Linked DNA regions of Homo sapiens: region 1 is linked to region 2. The links are contacts of gene promoters, found by promoter capture Hi-C in human tissues and cell types (Jung and others, 2019). All regions are on one chromosome and are shown on one strand. Each heading gives the region's core, a stretch centred on a gene start or on the middle of the fragment in contact. The rest is flanking DNA. Distances are from core to core; before and after follow the strand shown. Region 1 overlaps LOC124904790. Region 2 holds the start of AXL (AXL receptor tyrosine kinase).

What was found. Contacts are between HindIII fragments. The study calls those that stand out against the background at their distance.
Region 1: a contact is called between a fragment that was not itself captured here and the fragment with the promoter of AXL in region 2, in 2 of the 25 tissues and cell types used here (heart right ventricle and thymus).

The regions. Positions count from the first base shown.
Region 1 is chr19:41,170,824-41,175,632 of GRCh38, reverse strand. The region is part of intron 2 of LOC124904790; the gene reads left to right. Among named protein-coding and RNA genes, the nearest start is that of CYP2S1, 20 kb to the left of the region's middle. RefSeq lists an enhancer at 1-51. The HindIII fragment of the contact is 4,900 bases long and covers 248-4,809 here.
Region 2 is chr19:41,217,550-41,222,135 of GRCh38, reverse strand. It overlaps AXL (AXL receptor tyrosine kinase), which reads right to left and starts at 2,913. Exons shown (of 20, transcript NM_021913.5): 1 at 2,659-2,913; 2 at 1,278-1,500; 3 at 890-990; 4 at 80-256. The coding sequence starts at 2,743. RefSeq lists enhancers at 1-697, 2,948-3,772 and a silencer at 3,200-3,339. The HindIII fragment of the contact is 32,353 bases long and covers 1-4,586 here.

The DNA of each region.
Region 1 (4,809 bases), core at 1,448-3,947, 46 kb after region 2:
CTGCTTCAGCCTCCTGAGTAGCTAGGATTACAGGTGCGCACCACCACACCCAGCTAACTTTTGTATTTTTAGTAGAGACGGGGTTTCGTCATGTTGGTCAAGCTTGTCTCGAACTCCTGACCTCAGGTGATCCATTTGCCTCGGCCTCCCAAAGTGCTGGGATTACAGGCGTGAGCCGCCGCTCCCGGCCTCAAAACAGACCAATTTAACAGCATTCCACCGATGTCCATGCTGAACCATGGGAATGGCGGCCTGTTCTTTCTCCTGGAGTCCATCCTCCTCTGCAGCCAGAATTCTTAGCCGGAGAGTGGTGCTGAGGGAGCACCCCACTGCGTCTTTTATGTGACTGGCCAAGTTGTCCAACCTCAGTTTTCCTCATCTGTAAATGAAGCTTATAACTGTACCTAGCATCCATTAATACTCTGAGGGAGATACTAACATATCATCTCCATCTTCAGATGAGGAAACTGAGGTTCAAGGACCCTAGGTCACCTGCCCAGAGTCACACAGCCCCTAAGTGTCTATGGCTCTGGGATGCTCCTTCTCTCCTTCTCCCACTGCTCTCTTCGTCTGGGGGCATTGTTTTGCTCCACTCCTACCCCCCAACACTCCCAGAACAGAGTGGACCCTCTGGGCTGTGATGATGAAGAAATGAATGAGTGCACTCTACTCTGATACCCACCTTTCCATATCTCGGTGGGACCCAAACCACCCCCACACTCTCACCTGCCTCCACCCTGTACCGCCCTGACTTTCTGCACTCGGCACACAGGCACCAGGGGGTGCCCCCAGCCTGCAAGTCACCCCATTGGGCTTTTGGAGAATGGGGCAGGGGGAGAGAAGGAGAATGGTCCAGAGACAGACTGAAAACCCTGGAGGTGAGGGGTGTGCAGAGAACCAGAGAGAGACGGACAGTAATCCTTTCTCTTCTTCTTCTTCTTCTTCTTCTTCTTCTTCTTCTTCTTCTTCTCCTCCTCCTCCTCCTCCTCCTCCTCCTCCTCCTGCTCCTCCTCCTCCTCCTCCTCCCTGGATTCCACTTTTACGCTGGCTCGGGATATGTGACCTTGGGCCTATAACTGAACTTCTCATCAGCAGATCGGGGATGACATGTGAGTGCAGCCCTCAGAGGTTTATGGGGATCATATGATGAATACCTGCGCAGCGTTTAGGCGAATACTTGCACGTAGCCAACGTGTGCCAGCTGGCGTTCACTGCCCTTCTGCTCTCCATGCTTTTTCTGTGCTAGGTGTGGCACCGAAATCTTACAACAGCCCGAAGTCGGCACCTTTATGATCTCCACTTTATTATGCTTTTCATAGGAATTCAGTTACATAAGTAATAGATGATTATGGGTTGATTACAAATTTCAGCCGGGTACGGTGGCTCAGGCCTTTCGGAGGCCAAGGTGGGAGGATCGCTGGAGCTCAGGAGTTCGAGACCAGCCTGGGCAACATAGCAAGGCCCCCATCTCTAGAAAAAATTTAAAAAATTTAAAAATTAGCTGGGTGTGGTGGCAGACGCCTGAAGTTCCACCTACTTGGGAGGCTGAGGAGGGAGGATCGCTCAAGTTCGAGGCTGCAGTGAGCCATGATCGCGCCATGGCCCTCCAGCCTGGGCAAAAGAGCAGGACCTTGTCTCCAAAAAAGGAAAGAGAAAAATAAAATTTCAAAGACTACAGAAAAATAACTCCCTTTCTCCCTTCAACCCACTATTCCCTGGCTGCTGTCTATTTCAGTCCCACCCCCAGCTGTCCATCGCCGGCCACTCCTGCCATTACTATTGTTCTAAAGCTGCCAGAGTCAGCCTGGCCTGGTTCTATTCTTTTCTATCTTTCTAGAAGGTAAGACCCACTCTGGGTGGGTCAGGAGGTTAGTGTGTTACTTTTTTTTTTTTTTTTTTTTGAGACGGAGTCTCGCTCTGTCACCCAGGTTGGAGTGCAGTGGTGCGATTTTGGTTCAATGCAACCTCTGCTTCCTGGGTTCAAGTGATTCTTCAGCCTCAGCCTCCGGAGTAGCTGGGATTACAGGCATGTGCCACTATGCCCAGCTAATTTGTGTATTTATAGTGGAGATGGCGTTTCACCATGTTGGCCAGGCTGGTCTCGAACTCCTGACCTCAAATGATCTGCCTGCCTCGGCCTCCCAAAGTGCTGGGATTACATGCGTGAGCCACTGCGCCCGGCCTCTATGCGTTACTTTGGAGAAGTCACGTTCCTCTTTACACACCCATGTGTCCAAATGTGAAGTCCATTCCATCTCCATTTAGTTCCAGTTTTTATTTCAACATGCTGCAGCTTCCAGAATAAGGAGTAGCTGGAGAAGATCCAGAGTGTGGCATGCAGAAAGCCCCTCCACCAGTGCCAGGCACTGAGGCCCCAGGGAACTCCTGACCTCCGCTCCTTTATGCAGAGTTGATGCCAGGCCTGCATCCAGGCCTGACTGGGTGATGCTGGGGAGGCAGTAGAGACAGAGACAGCCCTACCCCCATGGGGCCCACAGTCCAGTTGAGGAGGCAGGTTAGTCACCAGACCTTGACTGCCCAGAGTGGTCGGGGCTGGGATGGGGGAGGCCAGGGGGCCTGTGGGAGCCCAGAGTAAGTGCCTGCCCTGGCCGGAGAGTGGTGAGTATCAGGGAGGGCTTCCTGGAGGAGGGGATACATGGATCTGAAGAATGACTCGAGAAAGATCATGGGGAAGAGTGTTCCTGCAGGGGGAATAGCATGTTGGGTGGCTGAGAGGGTAGCAGGAGGGATTGGAGGAGACCAGGGTTTTTGATGATGATTTCAGCACAGAGTGCTGGGGCTGTGGGGGAGGTGGGGGAACTGATTTCTCACCTCAGGGAGGGGCAGGACTTTGGAGGAGAGAGGAGAGCAAACATTCCAGGTGGGGAAACACCTGTTACAAGCCATAAGAGGGAGTGTATGGCGCTGGAGGCCCAGCAAGGCCAGTGTGGTTTAGCACAGATCCTTGCTGTGGACACAGAGTTGGGAGTCCTTGGCAGACAGACAGCAGATTCTGCAGCTCTGTGAGTGACCAGGCTCACCTGGGAGAGAGGGTGAGAAGAGGACCTGGTTTCTAGCATGTGGAGGTGGGGTGGGGGAGAAGGCAGAGCAAGGGAGACTGAGGGTGGGGACCCAGGAGGTGGAACACCGCCACCACCAGGAAGCTGGAGGAGGGGCTCTCAGCCAACTCCCCACCAGAATTTGTATTGTATAATTCTAAAAACGATGTCTGGTTAACATTTATTTTTATGTTCAAATGTATCTTTTTAGAATATTGTGCCAGTCTTGAAGATCACTGGAGATACTTCTACCTTCACCTACAATTTTCTTTCTTTCTTTTTTTTTTTTTTTGAGACAAGGTCTCACTCTCTTGCCCAGGCTGGAGTGCAGTGGCACGATCTCAGCTCCCTGCAACCTCAACCTCCCAAGCTCCAGTGATCCTCTCACTTTAGCCTCCCAAGTAGCTGGGACTACAGGCGCATGCCACCAGACTGGGCTAATTTTTGTATTTTTTGTAGAGACGGGGTTTCACCATGTTGACCAGGCTGGTCTGGAACTCCTGGACACAAGTGATCCGCCCGCCTTGGCCTCCCAAAGTGCTGGGATTAAAGGCGTGGGCCTCCGTGCCCGGCCCTGTTTTACTCTTTTCCTGGTGCCTTTTTTTTTTTTTTTGAATTGGAGTTTCGCTCTTGTTGCCCAGGCTGGAGTGCAATGGCGCGATCTCGGCTCACCGCAACCTCTGGCTCCCAGGTTAAAGGGATTCTCCTGCTTCAGCCTCTGAGTAGCTGGGATTACAGGCATGTGACACCACACCCAGCCAATTTTGTATTTTTAATAGAGATGGGGTTTCTCCATGTTGGTCAGGCTGGTCTCAAACTCCCCATCTCAGGGATCTGCCAAACTCCCCATCTCAGGGATCTGCCGCCTTAGCCTCTCAAAGTTCTGGGATTACAGGCGTGAGCCACTGCGCCCAGCCCTTCCTGGTGTCTTTGATGAACTACATTTGAATGTAGTCCAATTTATCAATCTTTTCAGTAATGTTTGTGCTTTTTTGTGTCATTTTTAAGAACACTTTTTCTCTCTTGGGGGCATAAAGATACCCTTCTAGATTATCTGTTAAAGCTTTTATTGTTTAGCTTTTCACATTGAGATATATGATCCATCTGGAATTAATATTTGATGTGATGTCAGGTAGGTTTCGAATTTCCTTTTTCCCCGTAAAGGTATTCAATGTCTCAGTCTCATTATGGAAAAGACCACCCTTTCCTCATGGTTCTGTAATACCATCCTTGGCATCAACCAGAAGTGGGTTCTTATTTTGGGCTGACTAATCTCTTCCATTGGTCTCTGTTCATGTTTGGGTAATTCTACACTGTCCTAATTACCATAGCTCCCTAGTAAGTTTGATATCAGGTAGAGTAAGTCCTCTTATTTAGTTTTTGTTTTTTCGGAGTCTTGCTCTGTCACCCAGGCTGGAGTGCAGTGGCGTGATTTCGGCTCAGTGCAACCTCTGCTTCCTGGGTTCAAGCGATTCTCATGCCCTAGCCTCCCAGGTAGCTTGCATTACAGGCACCTGCCAGCATGCCTGGATAATTTTTGTATTTTTAGTAGAGATGGGGTTTCACCATGTTGGCTAAGCTGGTCTTGAACTCCTGACCCCAAGTGATCCACCCACCTTGGCCTCCTCAAGTGCTGGGATTACAGGCATGAGCCACTGTGCCTGGCTGCTATTTTATGTATGATTTTTACATCCAAGTTTGGTAGTGAGACTGGCCTGTAATTTTCGTTTCTTATATTGTCTTAGGCAGG
Region 2 (4,586 bases), core at 1,664-4,163:
AGGTAGCAATGTTCCCTTGCTCCTGACTTCAGCCCTGCCCGGCCCCCTATTCGGAGCTGACCCACATCCCCGGACTCACCTGGAACATGCAGGCTGCGCTGGGGGCCGTGACCTGGAGCCGTGGCCAGGGGGACAGCATCCTGGAGCCAGAGTAGGTCCACGGGCTCTGGGGGTCCCTGAGCTTGGCAGCTCAGGTTGAAGGGGGTGTTGGCGGCCACAGTCCTGTCTTCGGGCTCCTCCAGGAAGTAAGGCAAGCCTAGCGGGGTGGGCAGTGGTAGAGGCTGGGGTCCCTCTGAGGCCCCAAGATGCCTGACTCACCACTAGGATGCTGTAGGCTTTGGGCAGCAAACCCACCCTGCAGGGTCATTGACTTGCCTTATCTGATCCCCGAGGGCACCTGAGCCATACCCAACACACACGTGACCCCAATATCTGATTCCTCCCATGTCAGACCCCCCACGATAGCTGAGCTCCTCATGTCTCTCTTCCAGAATGTCTGACAGCTCATCCTCATCTCATTCTATGGATGAGAAAAAAGAGACCGCTGGGGTCGTGGGGACAGGGGTACGTTGCGTGCCTCTGACGCCTTATCTGAAGACCAGAATGGCCTCCTGTGACCTGATGGTGTCTGATGCCTAGGACATCCAACTACCCCCAAGAAGTCTTTTCACCCAGAACATATAATCCCCCAGCCTTGGCACCATAACTTATATGGACTCCCAGCTTCTTGACCACCCAAAACTCTGACATTCTTAGGCTGTATGACGCTAGGTTCATCCTGAATCCTCCAGCACCCTTTGACCTTGACCCCTCAGGATTCCTGACTTCCCACAACCTATGAGCGCCACATGTCCTCTGACCCCTCAGGACCCCTGACCCCAGAGCTCACCCTCCAGCCCAACATAGCCAGGCTGGGACACGAAGGTCTGATGTCCCAGAAACACCAAACACTGGTACTGTCCCGTGTCGGAAAGCTGCAGGGAGGTGATTCTGACAGGGCAAGAGGAGAGACAGAGAGGTTCAGGGTCAGAGCTGGACACTGGGAGGGGGTCTGTCAGAACGGAAAGAGGGTGTCCAGTCTGGAAGCTCATGACAACCACGAAGTATGTCCTATTATTAACTCATTTTGCAGAAGAGGAAAACGAAACCTAGAGGTTCCATCACATGCTCAAAGCCGCACGGCTGACAAGTGGTCAAACTGGGGTTCCCACCCAGGTGGGCTTTCTGCCCTCTGTGTGACGGAGGTGGGAGTGGGATTCGGGGATGTGGCCACACACCTGAGCTGGCTGACCACTATCCAGTCATCCTGTTCATCCTCACCCAGGGGCACCTGGGTCTGGGTGCTGTCCGCGAGCTCCAGGATCTGTCCATCCCGAAGCCAATGTACCTCGGGGGGCTCTCCCTGAACCTGGAGCTGACACCGAAGGGTGCCCGTGAGTCCCCGGGCACCTGTGATATTCCCTGGGTTGCCCACGAAGGGACTTTCTTCAGCCTGCGTGCCTGGAGGGGAGATGGGAAGAGTTAGCTTAGGAACCCCCCAGCTCCTTCCGGCCCTCAGTTCCACCCTGTCCTTGCCTGCCCACCGGCGGCCAGGACCCCGCCAGGCCCTTAGGCCGACATAGTTGCAGAGTGACCTCAGAGTGGGGTGGAGGGCGGAGGCTCTGAGAGGAGGACGGGAGCCCTCCCAAGGGACTGGGATCTAGCGTCCATCCCGTCGGGAAGGAGGCTCGGGATCTGGCAGCCTCCCACGCCCTGCACTGCCTGGCAGGGCCAGCCCCTGCCCCCTCCGTCCTCTCTTAGGTCTCTAGAGACTTAACAGGTCGCGCTGGTGCTGGTGGATGGAGGGGAAGAATCAGGGGTTGGGGGAGAGAGATAAGGGTGGTGGTGGGGGGAGATAAGGGTGGTGGCGGAGGGAGAAGCCAGAGAAAGGCAGGGGAGATGAGACAGAGAGGAGCACAGATACAAGGCAAGACAGAAAAAATGAAGAAACAGCCCTCAAGAGAGAAGAAAAGGTGGGGGCGGAGGGGGGATACAGTCACAGAGGGAGGCTGAGAAGAGAGAGAGAGACTCAGAGAGCAGGGAGAGATAAAGGCAGAGACTGTGAAAGAGAGAGAAACAGAGACCCACAGAGATAGCAGAGCTGGAGGCAGAGACAGAGAGACAAAGTGAGAGCCTCCTCCCCAGAGATGGAGTGGACTGGTGGGGTAGGGACAAGTGGCGGGTCAGGGGGGTGGTGTTGGCAGGGAGAAGCGTTTTCCCCCAGGGCTCCAGAGCCCTCCTCATCCCACTGCCTGACTCGGTGCCCCTTCGGAAAGATTTCTTCCTTCCTGGCGACCCTCAGCTCAGCCCCTCTCCCCATGGCCCCCTTCTCAGGTCCAGCCCCCACCCCTGCCCTCAGCTTCTCCTTGTCTGTCTGTCTCTCCGGGTCCTCTCTTCTGTCCCCCCTGCCCTTCAGTTCCTCTCTCAGTCTTTCTCTCCCTCTGCCGCACTTGGTGTCTCTGAGTCTGTGTCTCCCTCCCTTGAAGTCCCTTTTCTGTGGTCCCAAGGAAACTCCCTAAGCCAGCCCAGGCCCCCCACACCTGCCATCATCCCCCACCTCCTACCCCTGCCCCAGCCCCTCCGAGGGGATCCCTGCCCCAAGGAGCCCCCATCACTCACCCCTGGGGGCCATGCACGCCCAGCCGCACAGCGCCAAGCACCAGGCCAGCGGGACCCTGCCCATCCTGGGGCACCGCCACGCCATGGGTGCCAAACTTTCCTCAGAAGTTGTTGGGCTCCCAGCGGGGGAGGGGGCAGGGCCGGGCTGTCCCCGGCCCTCCCCCCAGCTCCAGGCTCCCCGGATTTGGCACTGCCTGCCTGGCACAGCGGCAGGGGAGGCCCTTGCCACCGGCTCTGCCCAGCAGCCGCCTTCTCAGCACCCCTGCCTCCTTCCCTCACTCCCAGACTTGGGCAACCCTTTCTCCGCCCCTGGCTCCCCCTTTGCCTCCGCCCACCAGGGCCAGAGCCCAGGGGCCACCTGGACAATCAGGGGTTAACTCAAGAGAGGAGAGGATCAGCTCTTTCTTAAAGGGGCCAGGGAGGGAGCTGAGGAGGGGGAAGGGGACCCTGGTGGCTGTGCCCCCTGTCCTGAGCCAGTGAGGCCGTGTCTCTCTATCCGGGCTCTGGGCGCTGTCCCTCTGGGCTCTGTGTCTGGTAAACATTCCTCCAGAACTCCACTCCCCTCTCAGCTCAGGCCGTGACGCCCCTCTCCCCGCCTCCACCCCCAGCCCAGCCCCAGCCAGGCCTCCTTGGCCCTTCATTCCCCCTCACTCTCTCGGCTCCTCGGACAAGGACACACACACACACACACACACGCACGCACGCACGCACGCACACACACTCTTAGACGTCACTGACACACACAGGCTAGGACAAGCAGAGACACGCAGAGGGACCCAGACGGGCAGGGGCATGCTACTGGCCCACAGACACACTCAGACAAGCCAGGCCAGGAGCTCGATTCCTGGAGAAACCTCAGAGACAGGAGGACACGGCTGGGTGGGCATCCATGGGGGACACTTACTTGGGGAGACACAGATCTTCAGACACGCCAAAACCTGCATGGACGCCTAAATGGGACACCAAATACAGGCGACATGAAGGGGACCCAAGTTGGAATCCCAGTGCTACCACTAACTGTGGGCTACAGGCAAGTGACTGGCCTCCTGAGCCTCAGTTTGTCCATCTGTAAAATGGGAATAAGAATAGTTGTTGGCCGGGCACAGTAACTCACTCCTGTAATCCCAGCACTTTGGGAGGCCAAGGTGGGAGGATCGCTTGAGCCCAGGAGTTCGAGACCAGACTGGTCAATGCACTGAGACCCCCATCTCTACAAGAAGTTTAAAAATTAAAACTTAACCAGGTATCATGGCGTGTGCCTGTGGTCCCAGCTACTAGGGAGGCTGGAGTGAGAGGAACGCTTGAGTCCAAGAGATCGAGGCTGCAGTGAGCCCTGATCATTCCACTGCTCTCTCCTTCTGGTGGGACTGTGTGTCCTGGTTATTGCAGATCTGCTGCCTGCGTATCGGCTCTGCTGCACTTCCATTCCTCGGCCCTGTGTGTTTGGCACGTGGAGGGCTCTGCATGCCTGGATGTCTGTGAGGAGGAGGCTGGGCGTCTATCCCTCTGCTCTTGGCCACCTGTGTTTGGGTACTGGTATACCTACGGTGCATCATAAAGTCCTATCTGTTTGGCCTCCTGATGTCTCTTCTACCTGCCCCTTCCCAGCACCCCCGTCTGATCCTGCCTTCTCCTGCCTCTACTGTCACTCCTTTCTCCCATTTAGCAACCAGAGGACTGTTTCTGAAAGTCAAATCCTACCCTGTCCCTTCTCTGCTTGCCCATGGCCTCCTGCTGCCCTCAGGGCAAGCTCCCAGCTCCTTGTCACTGGCCACTTAGGGCCCTTCACCGTTGTCTCCCTGGGCTGTGTCTTTTTTTTTTTTTTTTTTTTTGAGACCCAGTCTTGCTTTGTTGCCCAGGCTGGAGTGCAATGGCTCGATCTCGGCTCACTGCAACCTCCATCTCCTGGGTTCAAGTGATCCTCCCAC